Linked DNA regions of Homo sapiens: region 2 is linked to region 1. The links are contacts of gene promoters, found by promoter capture Hi-C in blood cells and fetal thymus (Javierre and others, 2016). All regions are on one chromosome and are shown on one strand. The core of a region is centred on a gene start or on the middle of the fragment in contact, and the rest is flanking DNA. Distances in the headings are between cores, read along the strand shown. Region 1 holds the start of GCOM1 (GCOM1, MYZAP-POLR2M combined locus). Region 2 overlaps GCOM1 (GCOM1, MYZAP-POLR2M combined locus).

Evidence for each region. The method cuts DNA at HindIII sites, captures the fragments that hold promoters and counts their contacts. A CHiCAGO score of 5 or more calls a contact.
Region 2: a contact is called between a fragment that was not itself captured here and the fragment with the promoter of GCOM1 in region 1, in 2 of 17 cell types (naive CD4 T cells and naive B cells). The highest score is 7.3, in naive CD4 T cells.

What each region holds. Positions count from the first base shown.
Region 1 is chr15:57,588,578-57,593,862 of GRCh38, forward strand. It overlaps GCOM1 (GCOM1, MYZAP-POLR2M combined locus), which reads left to right and starts at 3,327. Exons shown (of 17, transcript NR_104371.3): 1 at 3,327-3,532. MYZAP (myocardial zonula adherens protein) reads left to right here and starts at 3,327. Exons shown (of 13, transcript NM_001018100.5): 1 at 3,327-3,532. The coding sequence starts at 3,458. RefSeq lists a silencer at 3,216-3,325. The HindIII fragment of the contact is 3,808 bases long and covers 313-4,120 here.
Region 2 is chr15:57,708,147-57,713,835 of GRCh38, forward strand. GCOM1 (GCOM1, MYZAP-POLR2M combined locus) reads left to right here. Exons shown (of 17, transcript NR_104371.3): 15 at 568-1,212; 16 at 3,838-4,042. POLR2M (RNA polymerase II subunit M) reads left to right here. Exons shown (of 4, transcript NM_015532.5): 2 at 568-1,212; 3 at 3,838-4,042. Among named protein-coding and RNA genes, the nearest start is that of POLR2M, 4.3 kb to the left of the region's middle. The HindIII fragment of the contact is 4,237 bases long and covers 1-3,414 here.

The DNA.
Region 1 (5,285 bases), core at 2,077-4,576:
GGTTCCAGCCCTTGTGTCTAGACAGGCCTATAACTGCTGTGTATCTGGATGACTTGGCTGGGGTTTTGGGTTCCTTTCAGCCTGCCTTTCTTATCTCTAGGCCCCATTCCCTGTTTCTCGGACAACCTGTGAATATGGGGTGTTTCTTGTTCTACTTTATCCAAAGGGGCTTTGTAATGTATTACCCTTGTCCTTGGTTGGAAATGTGTCCTTTTTCTATTGTGAAAGTTTGGTCTGTTTGGCATGCAGAATGGGAGAATATGCCAGGACTTCGGGATGCTGTCGCAGCTGAATGGGAGAGAAAGAAAGAGAAGCTTCAGAGATATAAGAGTGAAGAGGGCATGAAATATCAGGAGGGCCAGAATTGCTTGGGTTCATCTACTGTGTGCTCTTGTCCAGTGATTTAACTCTTGATCATTTGTGCAAGAAATAATGAGTCATTGCTGCTCAGGACTTTGCTGGAGAAAAGGGTCCTATCATAAGCCTCTCAACTAAAGATGCCAATGGAATTTGGAAAGAGTTTAGCAGAAAGCAACAAAGACAATTCAGAAGCAGAGACCTAGAGGATATGAAAGATAATTCTAGGAACTGGGATGGGAGAAGGAGGTAAAATTCAGTAACTGATTACAAGAAAATGAAGGGTGCTTATACAGACATCTGGAATTTTCTACACACCTGTGCTTTAGCAGAGAAATTCAGGACTGCTCTTAGGCCTATGTGGCTATTTCTGTGGATAGAAAAGGATGACAGCTAAGACAGTTTTGTCATAGCTCCCGTTCTCTCCAGCCCAAACACTAGCAACCCCTTCATCACCAATGCTCAGAGGGTCTGGAGTAGATGAGTCATGTTGCAAGGGAATGTGGAGAACTTCTACACCAGACCCTTATCCCTGTTCCCCTCCCATTGGCCCTCTTCCCCACTCTCAGTTCTGTAGACTCCAGAGGACTGCTGACTGGGCAGAAGTTCTCAGCTTTTGATTCCTCTTTTGAAAAGAGTCCATCTTTTTTTAAAAATCATCTTCTCTCAGAAATATTAATGGAAACCAGTGACTGTGACTTCATTTTTTACTTTTTCCTCTCCACTCTAGATCCACTTTTCCATTGATTTCAGTCCTACTTGTCTTCCCATTTTCCTTCTTTCCCACTTTCTGGGCTCCCCACTCTCCTCTCTCTTGCAGTTCCTTATGACCTCAGATTCCTAGTGCTGGCCTATTAGGGAGGAGCTGTGGCATAAGCCAGGGCCTGGCATCTGCCTGGACACACCACCCACAGCCCTTGGCGATTGTCAGCCAGCTTTGGGGAAATGGCCTGGCTGGGACAACCCTGGGGCTCTTGTTGCTTCAGCTGCCAAATTGCTTGGAGTCCCTGGCCCACCCTAGGAGCTGGGTTGGCAAGGATCTTAGTTTCTGTTTTTCATGACCATGAGTGAGTTGAAATCTTACTCTGTAATAACATTTCTTCATTCTTTCCACATTTACTTGCACTACCACACGTCAATTACCTGCTCTAGATATTGGACAGGCAGAGATGTAAACAAGATCCAGCTTCTACACAGAGCTCACAAGCTAGTGAGCTGTCTGCTGCTTTTGTAAAGAAATATAACACCGTGTGAATAGGATGTTAACAATATGAAAAAGACTTGGGTAGATTAGAGGGCTTCGTGGAAGTGGAATGGGAAGGAACCTGTCATGAACAATTTTCTTTTTGGAAGGGATAGGTGGATGGGAGGATGCAGAGAGGAGTGTAGCAGAAAAGCAGAAGGACTTGGGTTAGAAGACTAGATGTGTAGTCTCAGCTGTTCACCAATTAACCTAATGTCTCTGGCCTCAGTTTCCTCATTTGCAAAACAGGGGCGATAACTGTAGCCCACCTTGTGGGGCATTGTGAGAATTGGTTGAGAAAATGCATATAAAGCACTTAGGACACAAGCACAGCTACTGTGAGGATGACGATGAGGATGGTGAAGAACAGGCTGTGCAACTTTGGGAAAGTCACTTGTATACACCGGCCTCAGTTTCCTCATCTACAAAAGGAGTGAGTTCCACAGGATCATCTGTAATTCTGTTTAGCAACATTTTTTTTTCAGCATCTTCCCTGTTGGTGCCATTGGGCATTCAGAGAGGGTCAAGGCCTGGCCTCTGCCCTCCAGAAGGACAGGGTACAGGCACACACATAGATAACTCTAACAGAAGACAGGGTCCCGCGGAGCTGCTAAGTTCCTGAGCATGCGTGTTTGGGGAAGGGGTTTCTGGAGAGCTCCGTGGGGAGGCAGTGCTTGACCTGGGCTTTGAAGACAGAGATTGTGTCTTTCCCTGCTGAAAAACACTTTGTCCTCAAGATAAAGGCCAAATTTCCAGCTAAGCACACAGGTTCCTCATGATGTCCTCAGCTCCCTTCCGCTGCTTCTCCACTGTTTTCCCACTGCACTGTGATACTTCCAATTCTTGAAACATATTTTATACCTTCCCTTGCTTTCCTTCCATCTTTGTGCATGCTAGTTCTTTTGACCTGGGACTCCCTCCTCCCTCTGTTAGGGGACAGCAGAGGGGACAAGCAAGGCACTAGGGTCGGACTGGGGGATTCATATCCTACCTTTGCCACTGAGAGGCCAGTGGGTCGCCTGCTGTGTTGCTCAATCCCTAGGTGAGTCAGCGTCTTCATCTGCAAAATGGGGATACAAGGTAACAACAGTGACTCCCTCAAAGGGCAATGGTGAGGATTAAATGAGGTAACACACGCAAAGTGCTCGCCAGGCAGGCCCACAGTAATCATTGAATAAATATGGGCAGTGTGGCCCACTCCTACTTGCATTTCAGGTCTTAGCTTAGTCATCACCTCCTCTGAGGTTGGCTGTGTGCTCCCTTAGTACATGGTATCTCCTCTTCTACCACAGCCCGGCACCTGTCATCCCCACCACACTGCAAACTCTCCGAGGCCAACAGCCAGTCGACTGGGTTGGCTGCTGGTGGGGACGCATAATAGGCATTCAGGAAATACTGAATGAATGACATGGGGTGAGGGTCCCAGTGATACGAGGGCGTGCAGAGGCTGTAGGGGGCAGTCCGGGGTGGGGGTAGGTCGTGAGACTGAATGGGCAGGTGGATCTCAACTCTGCGGGGGACAGAGAGAGCATGGGCGTCCAGGCTGTCCAGGGCTCCTTCTTGCCCTGGGACTGACCCTGGGAGGGCGCAGCGCCCTGGGAGAGGATGGTGCTCAACTTTAACCGGGTCGGCGCCCTCGGGAGAAAATGCAGCCTGACGGGTCGGGTGAGCGCGCTCGGCCCCGCCCCGGCCCGGCCCGGCCCCGCCCCCGGCCCCACCCCCGGGCCTTCGCGGTGCAGCTGAGGCTGCAAGTAGCCGGCGCCGTCCCGCGTCGCCCCCGCGCAGGGCGGGCCCCGCACGCTTATTCTGCCCGGGAGGAACGCCGGCGTCCAGCCCGCTACCGACCGCCGCTGCGGGATGCTGCGCTCCACGTCCACGGTCACCCTGCTCTCGGGCGGCGCCGCCAGGACGCCCGGGGCGCCCAGCAGGAGGGTGAGTAGCGGGGGCGGGAGCCGCCGCCGTCCCGTTCCCCCATCCCGGCCGCCCCCTCTAGAGGGGACTAGGGATGGGAAAGCTCGGGAGCCAGCACCTGGCCCCGACGCCCCACCCTGGGCTCAACTCCCCGGTCCTGTGCCGGCTCTGGCAGTGACCCTCCCGCTTGAGGTTTCAGGGGGCCCACCAGCTGGTAGGAGAGGGCTTAGGGGACTTTATGGAATTCCCAGAGATTTCCTCTCCTTCCTGCCTTTCTGTCAAGCCGAGTTTATTGGCGGCACCAGTTTAAAAATGAAGGAAGACATTTGTGCAGTGTCCCTACCTTGAGACTCAAAAGTAATGAATGTATTTAAAACTCAAACTTTCCTTCTTCCATTAATTAAAAGAAAGATGGGGTCACTTGTGTCCACTAGTGATAGGGTATCCACTAGTGATAGGGTAATTCTGGAGTGGGGTTAGCCAAGGTGGGCAAACCAGAACAGCAGCCGGCCGCCCAGGAGCCCGACTGTGTGGGACTCCGGTTTATGTAAACCACTTTCTTCTGTCTGATTTAAATATTAGCACAGTGACAACAATGGCAGCACTGAAAGCTTGGGACAGCATCTCCAGGGAAGGTTTCCCTTTGGAAGTGCTGTTTCTTTTTGATCTTTGTGGCATCTTTTCCCATCTCTCCAGATGCTCTGTAAAAGAAATGCTCCATCTTTCTAACACGGTCAGCACCTTAGAGCCACAGCCAGGGGCTTGGCTTGTGGCTTTTTAGTTCTTCCATTTATCATGATGTTCAATACTTATCATTTGGTACCTCTTTGCTCTGATTGAGACTTCTGTAATCGTGTTTCCTCAAGATTTAAACAGGTGGTTAAGTCCAAAGCAAAACCCCCACTGGTTCTGTCTGCGTGCAGGCTTGGACCTGCTTATTTGCTTTTACATGCCTTAAGCGAGTGATGGTGGTCACCTTATAAGCTGTCTTTCTTAGCTCTAGAAGAAAGGTGTGTTACTCTTGGGCATGGGCCAACTGATGGATTCTGGGGTGTGTGTGTGCGTGCACTCACCAGACACTTAGGTTGTGTACACAGGCGCACACACACACACACACACACACACACCCCAGAATCCATCAGTTGGCTCATGCCCAAGGTTGACAGAACTCCAGTTGTCCAATCATTAGCATCATAGAGTAAGATCTACATTGGGTCCAAGGGGGTTTCCAACCACAGTCCTGGCCTTACTCTAAGTTGGGTGTTTGTATTTTTCTATGGAAATCTTTCTCAATTTGAACACAATTGCAACTGAGAAAGAATGAAGTCACTGAAAAGCTAACCCTGAGCCCTGAGAGGATCATATGTGTGACCAGACTGCATGAATTGCATGAAATTCTCTGTAACTTCCCTTCCAGAGGTGGGGATTAGTTGGGGTACCTAACCTAATACGGTGGGTTGATACAAATGTGACTAGTATACAAATAACATTTCTGAAGATTTTGGGTCAAACGTTTCCTTTGGAATATTTATTTAATTATAGGTGCTTTGCTGTCGGACACATTGTGACACTCTTGAAAAGACTTTGCCTTTTGAATAAGATGGCAGACGTATTTTGGACTGGAGAACTCAGGGCTCGGGATCAGGCCATTCAGGGCTGTCCTGGGTACACTGGTACTTGTTTCTGGAAGGAAGGTATCTAAAGGGTCTAGGGTTCTGCCCATCTTTATGGTTTCTAGCTCTGCTCATGATTTGCAGATGTTACAAGTACTATC
Region 2 (5,689 bases), core at 46-2,545, 120 kb after region 1:
TTTATGTGTTGTATCTAGCGAAATGTATTTACTTATCAGAAATACGTCTGAAGTCTTTAAAACATAAGCATACACAAGCACACATTCTATTCTAGAACAATGATGTCATCACATGCCATGTAGCCTCTGGAAAACTCCACTGTACCCATGCGAGAAAATGAGAGGGAAATAATATCTTAGTATTATTATGAAAGTAGTTTTGACCTAATAGGCCCATCCCCACACTCCACCCCATCCCCAAATTTTGGAGATTGCACTTTAATGACTGCTGGTTCTTGGAATGTCTTATGTGATTATTATATGCTTAAAATACTTTTGCTGAAATTCTAATTTGCTGAGACAAATGAGGCATATATTCCCTATTCTTCCTGCATTCCCTTGTTTTTTGGGCTATTTGGATAATGACCATTTTAATTGTTTTATTCTTGTTTTGGGGCAGTTAGAAATCAGATATTTGACTTAAAAATCAGCTTTTCTTTCTTTGAAGATAATGCCTTGCCTTTTTAATGTTATATCTCAAGTTAAAAAAATGGCTGTAATGTAATAGTATTCTTTTCCATTTGACAGAAAATTCATTTGCAAATTGCCCGACAAAGGTAAAAAGATCTTTGACTCTTTTGCCAAACTGAAAGCTGCCATTGCAGAATGTGAAGAAGTTAGAAGAAAAAGTGAACTGTTTAACCCTGTTAGTTTAGACTGTAAGCTAAGGCAAAAAGCAATTGCAGAAGTTGATGTGGGTACAGATAAGGCCCAGAATTCTGACCCGATACTTGATACTTCATCACTAGTTCCTGGATGTTCCTCTGTAGATAACATCAAGTCATCTCAAACCTCACAAAACCAGGGACTTGGACGTCCTACTCTTGAAGGTGATGAAGAGACTTCAGAGGTTGAGTACACAGTGAATAAGGGCCCAGCTTCCAGCAATAGAGACAGGGTACCACCTTCATCTGAAGCTAGTGAGCATCACCCGCGGCATCGTGTTTCAAGTCAAGCGGAAGATACTTCCAGCAGCTTTGACAACCTGTTTATTGACAGGTTACAGAGGATCACCATTGCGGACCAAGGTGAACAACAGTCAGAAGAAAACGCAAGTACTAAGAACTTGACAGGCCTTTCCAGTGGGACTGAGAAGAAACCTCATTACATGGAAGTGCTAGAAATGCGAGCCAAAAACCCAGTGCCCCAGCTGCGTAAATTTAAAACCAATGTGTAAGTACCCTCGGAAACAGGCCTGTAACAGGAACGTGATATTTGTTAAACTCAAAAATTTACGAGAAACTGGGTGTGGTGGTGCTTGCCTGTAGTCCCAGGCTACTCAGGAGGCTGAGGTGGGAAGACAGCTTTGAGTCCAGGAGTTGTAGACCAGCTTGGGCAATATAATAAGACCTTTTCTCTTAAATAAGTCAGGAGAATGCTCTAAGTTCCGTGGGCTTTGTATGAGAACTACTTGTAGTTAGGAAATAACATGTTGTGGCAACACTGAGACCAGCCTGGCCGGAGTAGAAGATTCATGTTGAAAAATATTTAGTTTTGAAACCAAATAATCGACAAGGTCTTTTAAAGCACATGGGGGAGTGTTAAATTTTAGGATGCTTAGCCAGTATTTCATAATAAACACAGAGTTGGAGAGAATTTATTATGACTTCTTTTTTTCAGAACCATTTTTTAGTGTACAGCTTTGATTAGTGTACTATCAAAGTGTACTCTCTTTGATTAGTCTGTGAACTAAGGGTAAAGCAATTGCAGGAGCTGATGGGCTTTCCAGCAGAAATTATTTGCATGCTCACTGTATGTAAGCAAGCAGCAGGTGTTGTGGGGACACAATTAAGTCAAGATTCTTAAAACTCCTTTGCCTTTTTTGATGTTAAATCTCAAGTTTAAAAACATGGCTGTAATGTATACATGTGTAATGTAATACAATACCATGTTCTTCAAGGAGTTTAAGAGCTACATGAGGACCCAAGGTTTACACACTTGGAAAAGAGTTAAGCTACATAATAATAACAGTTTCAGGGGGAAGGAAGCTGAGAAGAGGTTTGAAAAACTGTGAAAATAGATTCAGGCAGGATAGGCAAAAACTCTGCTTATCAGTTCCTTGCCATAAATTTGTTTCTGAAATTTCAGGAAAAGTAAAATCTTTTTGAAAATAATTGCTATTTACTTGCAGCAAATGTAACATTCAACTCAGGTAACTGGTACCTTCTTCCTATATTGTATTTACAAGTATGTAACATCAAAGTTAAATCACTACTACCTTTCTTTGAAAAACAGAAAACCTCTAGTGAAAAGTATCTAAAACATGCTTCTTTTTTGTTAGACTTTAATTCTACCCCAGCATTCATTTTAACCTCAAAACATTTTATTTCTGCTGTATAGAAAATCAGGATTATACTACATTAACGTGATCAAGTACTCTCTTGTGTACAGTGGGGTATCTTTCTTCACTTCCAGGATGACATTTTAGAAAACTAGAACCATCATCTAGTCAATAAATAAAACAAAGAATACATTAATCCCAGTTCTGTATTATGGTCATTTAGCTGGGAGTGGGAGAGAGGTAAGGGAATAGTGAAGAGGGCTACCAAGAATTCAGGAAGTTTAAGAGACAGGGAGCCTCCTGTATAAGTTAGAGGAGAACAGGAAAGGCAGGGCTTTGAGGAGTCCTTAGGCCATAGACAGGTAGGGATTGAGAGGGTTCCGTGTGAGAGGTGGCTTGGAGGTTGGAAGGTGGGGTCAGGTAGTGTCCTTTGGGTCCTTTCTGCTCTTCCTTCTGCATACTCTTCTGGCTTCATGTATCACCTGGATGCTGGAGGCTGACCCCTGTGCACCTCTATCCCAGATCTTCCCAGAACTTTAGGTTTGCATAGCCAATTAACCATGAAACTTGATCACTTGGGTGTTCCCAGGTACCTCAGCTTAATGATGTACAAAGTGGAACTGCAGTTTCTTTCCAAGGTGATTTCCATATTCCCTAATAGTGCCACCACCTTCTCGGTTTTCTTCCCCTAAGGTATCTTCGATTTTTCTCATCTCCATATCTGCTAGCCATGAAGACCTACTTATTTCTTTGATCTTCATCTCTATAATTGTTCTTCATCTTCTGTCGAAGTGAAGACTCTCATCTCTCTCGGGCTGTAATTGTGGCCCCTTCTACCTCTAGTCTTAACTACCAGTCTATCTCCACTGCTGCCAGAGTGAAATTTGTAAGATGGAAATCCGAACTTGTTACGGAGAACTCTTCATTGCAGTCTGGGCCTAGGCTACTTCCCAGCCCTCTTTCTCGCTGTCTTTTCTGTGTAGCCAGAAAAGCTGAGTCTGTCTACCTTCTGTACTTTCTCTCACTCCCCTTGCTGGGATGCACTTCTCTCCTTATTTACATGGGTAAGCAGTTATTATTCCAAGACTGTTCAAAGCTTTTTTGAAACTTTTCTTAGCCTCCCTGTCTCCCACTAGAACTGGCCATTTCCTTATGTTCCAATGTATCTTGTTGAGATATCTATCACAGTATCTCTGGTATTGTATTGCACTGAAACTTTACATGTGTATTTCTTTCTACTGGGCAATAAGCCCTTTTGCAAATGTTCTTTGAATAAATGAAAAAAAAAAAAAAAACTCCAGATGAAATACAAGGTTTGAATAAGGAAGGAAAAGGCAAAGAGCCTGTATGCACACAAACACACCCCTATTTGTTAGAGCAATGAATACTGGTAAATTACTTACTGTTACCTTTGGAGGAGAATTAATTGCTAAGGTAAAGGCCATTTGTGTGAATGTTTTAAATGTGTCTACAAATAAAATAATCTGATTGTATAACACAAGTTTTCCTTTCATCAGGTTACCTTTTCGACAAAATGATTCATCTAGTCATTGCCAGAAGAGTGGGTCTCCTATTTCCTCAGAAGAGCGGCGGCGCAGGGATAAGCAGCATCTTGATGACATCACAGCAGCTCGGCTTCTACCACTTCACCATATGCCCACGCAGCTGCTCTCCATAGAAGAATCCTTGGCACTTCAGAAACAGCAGAAACAGAATTATGAGGTATTTAGAGTATTTTTTTTCTTGTCTGTTTGTTGGGTGCTGCTTACATAAGCTAGAATTTACTCCAGGTTCAAGGAGGAAGGAATGGAATAGAGGGGATTAGGTGCTTCCATGAGCTCAGATCTATGCCACTAGTTTTCAGAGAGTCACAAAGTTGCTAGAACTGCAGGAAGTAGCTAGAGATGATCACAGCTACCTTCAACATTAAAGTGGTGATTTGCCTGGAGATGTGGGGAGACTTGTAGAATTTCATGTCTTAAAGCTCATTTACCTGCCTGTTCCTGTTAGGATAGTAGTAGCATCGCATCTCTCCCTTTCACCTTGTAAAACTCATGTGACAGCTTCTCAGTGGCGGACTCAAACCCAGACCCCTTGTTAGAGAATGAGGAGAATGTAGTTCCCAGGCTTCCATCTTCTGCAGTACAGGGGAGGGCATAGAAGGAGTGGGAGGATAATGTTGTGTAGCCAGCAGACAGTGAGACACTGCTTTAGAGCATAATCTGCAGGCCCATGTGAAGAGAGAAATATCTCCTGCTTTTGGCAGCTTAATCAATTTTGCATAGCACTTTGTTTCCATGTGTTTTGCATTGAACTTCAAACATGTATGTTGAGAGTTTGTATACAGAATAATGGGATGGGAGAAAATAAGTGTGAAGGACCATAGGGGAACAGAAAAGTTTAGAAGTATTTAGTAATAATTTTAGCCTCCAGGAGAACAGTATCCTGTCTCACTTCCTAGGTATTGATTAGCTAGATTTTAGTCAGGTACTAGTGCACCAACTAGTATAACACCAGACTGTTCAGGAGTTCGAGACCAGCGTGGGCAACATAGCTAGACTCCATCTTTACCAAAAAATTAGCCGGGCATTGGGGCATGCAACTGTGGTTCCAGCTACCTGTGGGGCTGAGGTAGGAGGATTGCTTGAGCTCAGGAGGTCGAGGCTGCAGTGAGCCGCAGTCACACCACTGCACTCTGTATAGCCTGGGTGACAGAGTGAGACCCTGTCTCAAAAAAAAAAACAACAAAACAGGCTGTTAATCTGCTTTGGCTTTTCATAAAAGCCTTGGCATGGATTGGCATTATCAAGGTGCTCTTTTTGAAAAAAACCATTTTTCTTTCAGTGCATTAAAATGACTGTCTAGTTATGGCTGTAGCATTGAGGAAGTGTTTACTGTCTCTGAGCTCTTAAATGCCTGTCCTAAGATATTTTTAGGTTGAATTAAACCCTTCATCTTTAAATTGTTTTTTTTTAGCAGAGAAGTTGTAGTGGTAATAGCTCCCACTTTTACTGACCCATATTCATGGCTTGAAGAGGAGGACATCAAGAAGTTCAAGAAAGCATGAGAAAAGGGAAGAACTGAATTAGGAATGACATTGCCACCTACCATCAGTTGGTGGTAAAGTCCTTGGGAGTTTTTAAGTACATTGCCAGTGTCTGAAATTTACTTGGACTTTTTATTGGATACTAGTTGCTGTAGGACTTTATTTGGAGAGGAATAGTCAGCTTTTTAGTATTAATTTCTTGATTTTCATTTTGCCATTGAAATGTAATTCCCAAGTCTGGAAGTCATGATTGTAATTAGGGAAGAAGGTCCTGTCAGTTGTAGAAATCTAGACAGCATTAGTCCTTCTTTTTTTTTTTTTTT